3 separate regions of the Homo sapiens genome follow, and regions 1 and 2 are each linked to region 3. Evidence: promoter capture Hi-C in 16 types of primary human blood cells and fetal thymus (Javierre and others, 2016). All regions are on one chromosome and are shown on one strand. Each heading gives the region's core, a stretch centred on a gene start or on the middle of the fragment in contact. The rest is flanking DNA. Distances are from core to core; before and after follow the strand shown. Region 1 overlaps ERMAP (erythroblast membrane associated protein (Scianna blood group)). Region 2 holds the start of GUCA2A (guanylate cyclase activator 2A). Region 3 holds the start of ZMYND12 (zinc finger MYND-type containing 12).

The links. Contacts are between HindIII fragments. The CHiCAGO score rates a contact against its expected background, and 5 or more counts as called.
Region 1: a fragment that was not itself captured here is called in contact with the fragment with the promoter of ZMYND12 in region 3 in 1 of 17 cell types (monocytes); the score reaches 6.2 in monocytes.
Region 2: the fragment with the promoter of GUCA2A here is called in contact with the fragment with the promoter of ZMYND12 in region 3 in 1 of 17 cell types (endothelial precursors); the score reaches 11.3 in endothelial precursors.

The regions. Positions count from the first base shown.
Region 1 is chr1:42,818,719-42,822,242 of GRCh38, forward strand. All of the region lies in intron 1 of ERMAP (erythroblast membrane associated protein (Scianna blood group)), which reads left to right. Among named protein-coding and RNA genes, the nearest start is that of SVBP, 3.1 kb to the left of the region's middle. The HindIII fragment of the contact is 5,658 bases long and covers 1-3,524 here.
Region 2 is chr1:42,162,831-42,166,017 of GRCh38, forward strand. It overlaps GUCA2A (guanylate cyclase activator 2A), which reads right to left and starts at 1,915. Exons shown (of 3, transcript NM_033553.3): 1 at 1,808-1,915; 2 at 573-780; 3 at 1-140. The coding sequence starts at 1,882. The coding sequence ends at 76. RefSeq lists an enhancer at 1,775-2,739. The HindIII fragment of the contact is 7,781 bases long and covers 1-3,187 here.
Region 3 is chr1:42,454,366-42,457,942 of GRCh38, forward strand. ZMYND12 (zinc finger MYND-type containing 12) reads right to left here and starts at 1,657. Exons shown (of 8, transcript NM_032257.5): 1 at 1,523-1,657. The coding sequence starts at 1,632. It overlaps PPCS (phosphopantothenoylcysteine synthetase), which reads left to right and starts at 2,178. Exons shown (of 3, transcript NM_024664.4): 1 at 2,178-2,708; 2 at 2,882-2,985. The coding sequence starts at 2,201. It also overlaps a transcript of CCDC30 not described here. RefSeq lists enhancers at 1,779-2,008, 2,249-2,318, 2,409-2,528. The HindIII fragment of the contact is 2,356 bases long and covers 903-3,258 here.

The DNA of each region.
Region 1 (3,524 bases), core at 365-2,864, 360 kb after region 3:
CCTCAGTCTCCCAGAGTGCTGGGATTACAGATGTGAGCAATTGCGCCCAGCTTTTCCAAAATTTCTACAGTAAACGTTTATACTTTAGCAATCAGAGGAAAGTACATTAAATGTCTTTTTAAAAACCCTATACAAATGCTGATTCGATTATTATTAATAAAAGTAACCAAGTCAGAGTCTATTTCAGAAATCTTGATGTAGTACTGGTATTTTACATTTGTGTCACATGGTATGGTTTATAACGTTCATATAAGCTATGAACTAGATTACAGCTGAAGACACGGCAGGACCTTTAGAAGCCAGCTAAAAACAAACCAGCTATAGGGAATGGAGGAGTGGAAAAGCCACATGGAAGACTGGAAAAGTAGTGGTGCCACTGAGCCACTGTTGAAAGTGGAGAAGGTGTGATGAGTTGGTTTGGGAAACGGTGAGGAAGAGGATAAGTTAGGAGCGTGTGTGTGTGTGTGTGTGTGTGTGTGTGTGTGTGTGCGCGCGCGCAAGAGAGGGACCGAGAGAGAGAAAGAGCTAGATTACGCTTCAAGTGGCAATAGGCAAGAAGAATTGTCCAGTGAGCAATTAGAAGATTTCAGAAAAGAACGGAACTGGAGATACCAGTTTGGGATTCTACATTCTTTATTGGGAAGGTGAAGGTTGGAGCCAGGAGGGAGTGAATGTTGAGGCTGAACACTGTCAAAGTCCCCTCTCTATTCTTTCCATGAGTTTATGCTTTGTCTGTCTCTTTTGTGTCTACCAGTGGACTCTTGGCCAGGCTGCAGAATTTCCTGGTTTGTTGAATGACTAGCAAGAGTTTATAGTAATATAACTAGAATATTTTTACAGTTGAGGTATATACTACACTAAGATTATATTCACTTTATTGAATAATATTTTTTCTAGAGTCAAAAAATTATCTATTTTTATTTGCTTAATGATCTATGCATCCCTTGTTTATTTTTTATTTTCAGAGGTGGGCTCAAGTGATCCTCCCGCTTCAGCCCCTCAGTGGCTGGTACTACAGATGTGAACCAGGTCATTTACCAGTGTCTTTTTTTTTTTTCTTGGCAGCATCCCTCCTTAGACTCATCCTCTCTTTGCTCCAAACTCCTCTGCTTAGCCTTGCTTCACAGCTCTTGTCCTAGGATTAGGGACCTAACCACATTCTGGGGATTCTCTTCTTGTTTCTCCTGTGCCAAATCCCCTGCTCTCTGGATCTTATGTTTTTCCATTCTTGGTTTATTCTCTCATTTTGGAGGAGTATGTTCTCCACTAACTCCCCAGAAGGGGTTCATGGAAGCTAAATTTTTGAGTCCTTGCTTGTCTAAAAATGGCTTTATTTTCTTTCATCCTTGAGTGACAGATTTCCACATTGGAAATTATTTTCCCTCAGAAGTTTAACGGCATTGATTCATTGTCATCTAGCTTCTCATGTGGCTACTCTTGAGGAGACTGATTTATTCTGACTTGTGTTACTTCCCATATATTTTGTTTGTTAATTTGTTAATTTGTTTAGGATATTTTTCTCCTTTATCCTTGATGTTCTGAACGTTCATAACAAACTGTCCTTTAAGTATTTTTCATTCATTATGCTAAGCACTCGGTGGCCCCTTTCAATTGGGAAACAAAGTCTTCAATTCTGGGAAACGTTCTCTGTGATCAGTTTCTCTTTTTTTTTTTTTTTTTTTAACAAATAGAGACAGGGTCTCCCTATGTTGGCCAGGCTAGTCTTGAACTCCTGGCTTCAAGTGATCCTCCTGCCTCAGCCTCCCAAAGTACTCAGATTACAGGCATGAGCTGCTGCACCCAGCCAGTTTCCCTGTTTTTAAATTTTTCTTCATGTTCCATTTCCTGGTTTTGTTTATTCTAATTTACAAGAGATTTTCCTGAGCTGTATCCCCTGGTTCTTCTATTGAATTTTTTCATTTCTGCTACAAAAATGTTAATTTCCAAGAGTTTTTGTTTGATCCCCGACTTTCCTTTTTGGTAGCCTCTTGCTCTTATGTTGTGGATTCAGGATCTTCTCTTATTTCATATTTCTGAGGATTCCAGTTGTAATTTTCTGCTGTTTTCTTCTGCTTCCTAGATTGTCTCTGTTGTTTATTTTGGTCTCTGGCTTTCAAGTTGGAGCTTATCCTCAGACAATAACAGCTACCATTGAGTATCAGCCCCTATTTTAAGTATTTTGCATGTTTTAGCTAATTTAATCCTTACAACAACCCCGGGAGGTAGAGCCAGGCCCTGGTCCCTCCCATCCCAAGCCTGGAAGGTTCTCAGTTGAGAATCAGCTTTCTTCTTGCTGATGTCAAGGGTTGATGTCAGGAACCCTTTATCTGATGTTTCCCCCAATCCTGCCTCCCTCTGCAGGCACCTGGGTTAGAGTTCAGTTTTTCCTAGCTCTATTACTAGTGAGCCCTCTGCTTTCCTTCATTAAAGAAATGTATTGACATCTCTATTGCACAGTTACTTACTGTCCTGTTCTCTTTGTCCTTATAGGCTTTTCCTTTTGCACTCCAAGATTGTCATTTTAGATCATTTTGGGAGGTAACAGAGATAAGCATTTGTGTTCAATGAGACATGTTTATTTAACTGGAAATCTAGAGCTCCCTCTTTTTAAGTCAGGAAGCATATAGACCAAAAAAATTACAGTGATTATTACTGGATTCTGAGATTACGATTATGAGTGATATCTTTATCTATGTCTGTATCTGTTTTTCTCACTCATAGAGTTAGAAGTCTAAAAAGAACATTTCAGATAAGAAACTCATTTTATGATGTGATTTAGACTATCTGATAAAATGCTTCTGGAGAAAGCAGTAAAAATATTAATTATGACAAGTTATAAATTGGTACAATTACTTTGGAAAACAATTTAGTATCATCTATAACCTGGCAATACTACTTCTAGGTATATATTCTGAGAAACGCTTTACATTTAAAAATTATTGAGGACCTCAGGGAGCTTCAGTTTATATGAGTTATATTTTTTGAAATTTTCCATATTAAAAATTAAAACTGACTGGGTGTGGTGGTTCATGCCTGTAATCCAGCATTTTGGGAGGCCAAGGTGCGAGGATCACTTTAGGCCAGGAGTTTGAGACCAGCCTGGGCAACGTAGTAAGACCCCATCTCTACAAAAAAATTTTTAAAAATAGCTGGGCTTGGTGGCATGCACCTGTAGTCCTAGCTACTAGGGAGACTGAGGCAAGAGGATCACTTGAGCCTAGGAGTTCAAGGCTGCAGTGAGCTATGATTGTGCCTTTGCACTCCAGCCTGGGCAACAGAGCTAGACCCTAGCTCTAAAAAAAAAAAAAAAGAAAACTAAGAAAAATTAAATATAATTACTACTTTTAAAAATAAAAATAATAAATTATATAACAACAAAACATATATTTATGAAAAGCAACTTTTTTGAAACAAAAATATTACTGAGTAGCACTGCTTTATATTTATATAAATCCTTTTTAAAAAATTAATTTTTTTTTTTTTAAGATGGAGTCTCACTCTCTCGCCCAGGCTGGAGTGTGGTG
Region 2 (3,187 bases), core at 665-3,164, 290 kb before region 3:
ATCATGGGTGGCCCTTTCTGCAGGAGAAAAGAGCTTCCCTGCTGCGGAGGGGAGGCAGGCAGTGGGCAAGCCCCCCTAGCATCCGGTACAGGCAGCGTAGGCACAGATTTCACATGTGCCCGGGTCCTCAGCGATTTCCTCTGCACAACAGAGATGGAGCCTCGTGAGAACCAGCATTTCCTCGCGAGGCCCCTGCCGCCCTTGGCCCAGAGCTTGTACGTCACCACCCAGCCCCAGGAGAATCTCAGCAGGCCCGTACTCTGACCTACTGGGCTTTTCGCCCCAAACCAGGGCACACAGACCACTCAAACCAACCAATCAAAGCAGAGATTCCACCAGAAAGAGAGGAAACTAAGACCAGATGAATGGTCTTAGTTCCCAAACCTCAGCAGTTACAACTTGGAATTGAAGTGGGCATGGAACAGACCCACCAATCAGAGCCAAGCTCCCTAGTTCCACCAGTCAGAGCTGAGCCCTTCCTCCAAATCCCACCAATCAGAGCACATCTCTTCCTCAAGTGCCACCACAGTATTCCCGAACCCCACCAATCAGAGAGGAAGGAGGCTGCTCACCCAGCCTCTGAAGTATCTCCTGGGCATTGGGCTCCTTGCAGAGAGGCTTGAGTTCTTCTGGAAAGTTCGGGTTGCTACAGAGGATGGGAACCACAGGTTCACCAGGGATGGGTGCAAAGTTCCTGAGTTTCCCAACCCTGGGCTCCTGGGGCTCCTGGAGGTCTTTGAGCTTCTTCACTGACTCCAGAGAAAAGGAGAAATTTCCATCCTGGAAGAGAGAAGCCCAGAGCATGAGGCCAGGCTGCAGCCTGCTTCCTGGCTGTGCCCCCCGTGCTGGCCCCGGTCCAGCCCAGTGGTGCTCACAGGCAGTGTTCGTGGCATATGGGAGCCAGGCGATCCACAGTGGGGCACTGTGAGGGGCAGAGTTCAGGCCCCACGTCCTGGCTTGGCTCCGTGATGCTGGACACTCTGGAACCCGCAAATTCTGCATGTTGTATGGGGAATGGAGAAAATGGGTGTGAAGCTCCAGGAACACCATAGGTGCCTAATGAGTAGGAGCCAGTGTGCTGATTTTTAGGGAGAGGCAAAGGACCAGCACCCAGGCATCGTAGTTCCACGTGGCCAAGCCCAGGCTGTCTTTCCCCTGCCTGAGAGCGGTGCGGCTGATTACTGGGCCCCCAGCTCCAGCCTGCAGCCTGGTTTTGGTTTGAGAAGCAATAAAAGGCCTCCCGGAATCTGGCTTTGATAGAGATCAGGGCCCCCGCTAGGTGCCAGCTTGGCCTGTCGCCAGCATTGGCACTGGTAGGCATACCCATCTGTCAGGACCTCCAGGGTGTCCATGTGGTTCCTGGGACCCACTGAGGAGTAAGGTCTGGATTTAAATCCAGCTCCTGCACTTCCCACAGCCATGTGCCCATGGCCTGTTACAGAACCTTTGTGAGGCTCAGTTTTCCCCTCTGTAAAATGGGACTAATGATCCCTTTCTTCCAGGTTGATAGTGGAGCCACAGTGAGGGGCTGGGGAAGGAGCCGGCACATAGGACACTCAGTAAATTGGCCAACTCCCCGCCTTCCCCATATGGTTATTCCTCTTCCCTCCACTGGGTTTCTTTCTCCTCCAAAGTTGAAGGGAAAGGTGTGTGTGTGGCTGGACTGAGCAGGAGCTCCTCGAAGAAGGCCAAGCCTGGGACACACACCCTCAATCCAGCCCCAAAGAGGAGGTACTCTCTCAGGGGACCAGACCTGGGCACTAGGGGCAGGGAGCCAGCTGGGCCGGGGTAGGGACACAGGACTCACCTGCACGGTGACCCCTCCTGCCAAGGCGGCCCAGGCCCCAAGGAGGCACAGTGCGGAGAGCAGGAAGGCATTCATGGCAGCAGTGCCCGAGAGAGGGGTGGCTGTTCTGGATGCCAGGGGGAAGCGGCGGGACTTTTAAAGAGGGCAGGTTACTGAGTAACCTGGAAGCCTCTGTCAGTCTCATCTGCTCACCTGTCAGGCCTTATCAGATAAGGCTCGAGACAGCCCTAGGAGATAAGAGCCAGGCAGGGGGGGCCCCGGCCCCTCCCTGAGCACCTACTTTGACCCACAGCCGGGCTGGGTCCTGCATTCATTCACCAACAAGGCACATTCACTCACGACTGCCCTGTGCTGCTGTGTGGGGCCGGCAGACCCTGCCCTTGAGGAGGGGGGCCCAGCCCGACAGTGAAACGCAGGGCGATTAGGGTGGGGTGATCCTAGGATGAGGTGACGGGGCTGCACTGGGGGCTGAGCTCTGGAGAATGGGTGGAAGTTTTCCCAGAGAAGGGACTGAGGACAGAAGGCCATTTCATGCCAAAGGGACAGCCAGGAGGTGAGACGGGCCTGGAATATTCAGGGAAATGTGAGAAATTCCACGGGGGAGGCTGCAGGGCAAGTCAGGGTCTGGGTTTGATTGCCGCGACCTCAAGGAAGCCCTCCGCACAGCCTGGGTTCCGTTCCACCTACTGCCCAGTTGTGAGGCGTGTGAACTTGGGCCAATGCTTTCCCCTCTCTGAGTCTCGTTGTCCCTTGTGTCCCCTGTGGGAACCAAAAATAATACCTACCTCATGGGGTAGGTGTGTGGTAGGCATTACTGTTTGGAGAATCAAGTGAGGTTTTAAAAACATTTAGCTCAATGCCTGGCACACAGAAGGTGCTCAGCAGAGGTCCATTCCCATATTATTAGCAGCCACAGCAGCTCCTGGTCCTCCCTGGCCCCTCTGGTGACCTCCTGCCTGTCTGAGTCACAGGCTGTCCCCATCCTGTGCTGGTCCCCATCCTGTCCTGCCTGCCCTGCAGCCTCAGGGTGTCCTCGAATGAGCTCCTCCCCAATCCGCCCGCCCCCCTTGCCCCTGCAGATACAGTCCCCTTTCCGCGGATCTCACTGGGGAATTGCTTGGGTGTGCCCGCGCCCCTATAGACTCTGACCCCATTCAGACTGCGCCCTCAGGGCAGCGTGCATTCACTGTGTGCTGTTGTGAGCAGGAATCCCCAGGACACAGGAGAAAGGGTAGCCCTGGGATTGTCATCTTTCTACTCAGCCAACCTGGCCCGATGCCAGGACAGCCCTAGGGCGGGAGGTTGGGCAGGAATTCCTGGGTGGGGAGAGTCAACACTGAAGAGGGAATTGGAGAGAGCAGGGCCTGACCAGGAGGGAAC
Region 3 (3,577 bases), core at 407-2,906:
AAAGAAATAAATAAATGATTTCAGTCCATGTCCTAAGTGTTAGGATAGGGGACATACTCAGTGCTTTGAGAGCACTGAGGAAGGACACCTAGGCCAGTATGAGAAGGTACTGCAACAGCTTCTTGATCTGTTATGCAGCCGTCAGTGTCTACCTTCCTCTGTATCTGCCACACTGCAGCCCATCCTCTTTCCTTAACACAAATGAGAGCATGTCAGCTCAAAACCATTCATGGTTTCCCAGGAGATAAATTCCAAACCCTTGATCTCATGTCACTGTCTAGCCCTAACCTTTATCTTCTTGGTTTAAACTTCTACTACCTATCACAATGATGTTCCAACTTTTTTTTTTTTTTTTGAGACACAGTTTCACTCTTGTTGCCCAAGCTGGAGTGCAATGGAGCGATCTCGGCTCACTGCAACCTCCGCCTCCCGGGTTCAAACGATTCTCCTGCTTCAGCCTCCCGAGTAGCTAGGATTACAGGTGCACGCCACCACATCCGGCTAATTTTGACTCAACCTATAGTAAGAAATACATTTTTCCTGTACACACACACATGTCCACATAAAACACTAAGACAAAAGTTTTAAGAAACAATTCAGGTAGGATTAACCTGATACTTTCTACTCATTCTGTGCTCTTTTTTGTTGTTGTTGTTTTCTCTAAATGGTGATTGTGACTTATTCATAAACTGCTAAAGGGCCCTGGCCTGCAGTTTGAAAATCACTGACTGCTCCCTCCACTACTACGTTCTCCACTCGGCCCTTAGCAAACTCTGTTCTTTTGCCATTTGCCCTAGCAGTCCCGGATGCCGGGAATGCCCTACCCTTCTTCACTACTCCTGTACACAGCAGGTTCTGACTGCCCTCTCAAAATGCAGCTCAAATGTTTCTTCCACAGGGAAAGCTTTCCACATACTGCCCCATTCACTATCGTCTCACTCTCGTTGCCCAAGCTGGAGTGCAGTGGCGCGATCTCCGCTCACTGCGAGCTCCGCCTCCCGGGTTCAAGCGATTCTTCTGCTTCAGCCTCCCGAGTAGCTGGGATTACAGGCGCCCAGCACCACTCCCGCCTAATTTTTGTATTTTTTAGTAGAGACAGGGTTTCACCATGTTGGCCAGGCTGGTCTCGAACTCCTGACCTCAGGCGATCCGCCCGCCTCGGCCTCCCGAAGTGCTGGGATTACAGGCGTGAGCCACCGCGCCCGGCCTGTTTCTTTACTGATTTGTCTCCCACATTGGAATGTTAGATCTTTGAAGGAACTGATCTACCGAGCTGCCCCAGTAACTTTAGCACCTAAAATAGTGCATAACACAGAGTACGCCTTCAGAAAACATGAGTGACGAATAAGTGGGAGATGAGACAGACGAGGCCACGGGAGTCTTAGGGGCCTGTCTTAAAGCCGTTTTGAGGTGTCCCTTGCAGAGTCAGGGGCAACGGCTAACGCAAGGTACCCAAGCCAGACCCGGGAAAGGGAGAGAGGGAGGGAGTTATAGCGCCCAGGTGCCACGTTTCAGGGCCTACCAGTAATAAGTGACTGTGCAGGCCGCGCACACCCGCTCGGCTGGGGCTTCGCACACCTCACAGCAGAGTCTGCGCCCCTTGGGGACTGCCAGTGGGTAGATCACATTCATGGTGCAGCCAGCAGTGCTGGTCTCTAAGACGGTTGCCCAGCAAGGATACGCTGAACCCCGGCGTCACGTGACGATCGCGGGGCTGCGTACTTGCCAGCATTTCAAGGGCAGAGGGCGGCGGGACGTGACTCGACTAACATCTGGGTGTATTGCTGAAGTTGGAAAAGGGGAAGAAAGAAAGAAAAAGCAGCACAAAACCCACAAGTCCCACGGGTCAAATGGCCGAGAAACGACTCCCAAGGAGTCCAAGTCCAGAAAGGCCCGTACAGTGGCCGGTAAGGGTCAAACATGGCCAGTTCTTCACCCAGGCTAGGAAACGAACGTGAGGGAACGTGACCCTACCAGATGCCCACCCAGCCGGGGATCCCCCTCGTTGCAGTGTCACTTTCGCTGGGCTCTGGGGCAGAACAACTACGCATTTCCAGACTTGGCGAGATCGGGACCTAGTGTCAAAAGAAGGGTAGTGAACCGCCCACTCAGTACGGCGCGGCGCGTACACCAGGTAGGCGAGAAGGGGCGTGGCGCGGCGGCCGCGAAACGTGCGCAGGCGCCGGCCGCTGCGCTGCAGATGGCGGAAATGGATCCGGTAGCCGAGTTCCCCCAGCCTCCCGGTGCTGCGCGCTGGGCTGAGGTTATGGCTCGCTTCGCGGCCAGGCTGGGCGCGCAGGGCCGGCGGGTGGTGTTGGTTACGTCAGGCGGCACCAAGGTCCCACTGGAAGCGCGGCCGGTGCGCTTCCTGGACAACTTCAGCAGCGGGCGGCGCGGTGCAACCTCGGCCGAGGCCTTCCTAGCCGCCGGCTACGGGGTCCTGTTCTTGTATCGCGCTCGCTCTGCCTTCCCCTATGCCCACCGCTTCCCACCCCAGACTTGGCTGTCCGCTCTGCGGCCTTCGGGCCCAGCCCTTTCGGGCTTGCTGAGCCTGGAGGCCGAGGAGAATGCACTTCCGGGTTTTGCTGAGGCTCTGAGGAGCTACCAGGAGGCTGCGGCTGCAGGCACCTTCCTGGCAGTAGAGTTCACCACTTTGGCGGACTATTTGCATCTGTTGCAGGCTGCGGCCCAGGCACTCAATCCGCTAGGTGCGTGCCCTAGGAGTACCCCTTTTGCCTGGAAGCACAGCCTTTCTTTCCAGCCACTTATCCCCTTACCTCCTGCTTACCCACGGATCTCAGCTGGGGAACCCGAGTTGAGAAGGAGCTGATCCTATATCGTACCTCGCCGATTTGTTAACACCTTGTGTTTCTCTTTGCAGGCCCTTCTGCGATGTTTTACCTGGCTGCGGCTGTGTCAGATTTCTATGTTCCTGTCTCTGAAATGCCTGAACACAAGATCCAGTCATCTGGGGGCCCACTGCAGGTGATGGGCGCTTCTCTTCCAGAGATCTAATCCCATATAACCAATCTTGGGTTAATTTCCTCTTGATCTGGAGATGGCCTTTCTGCATCTGTATTCGCTAGGCACAGGGGATACAGAGATGAATAAGACACCGCCCTCCCTCATGGACCTCACAATCTAGTGAGGGAGCTGGACACAGACATAATTACAATACAGAGTGATAAATGCTCTAGTGGAGGTATGTACAAAGTGCAGTCAGATCATGGGGCGAGTGAATCCTGGGGGAGTCGATGAAGCTTCTTGGAGGAGATGAATTGAACTGGGTTTTAAAAGATGAGCAGAACCGAGCGCGGTGGCTCACGCCTGTAATCCCAGCACTTTGGGAGGCCAAGGAGGGCAGATCGCCTGAGGTCAGGAGTTCGAGACCAGCCTGGCCAACATGGTGAAACCCCGTCTCTACTAAAAAAATACAAAAATTAGCCGGGCGTGGTGGCAGGCGCCTGTAATCCCAGCTACTCGGGAGGCTGAGGCAGAAGAATCGCTTGAAACCAGGAGGCGGAGGTTGCAGTGAGCTGAGATCTCGCCATTGCACTCCAGCCCGGGCGACGAGAGC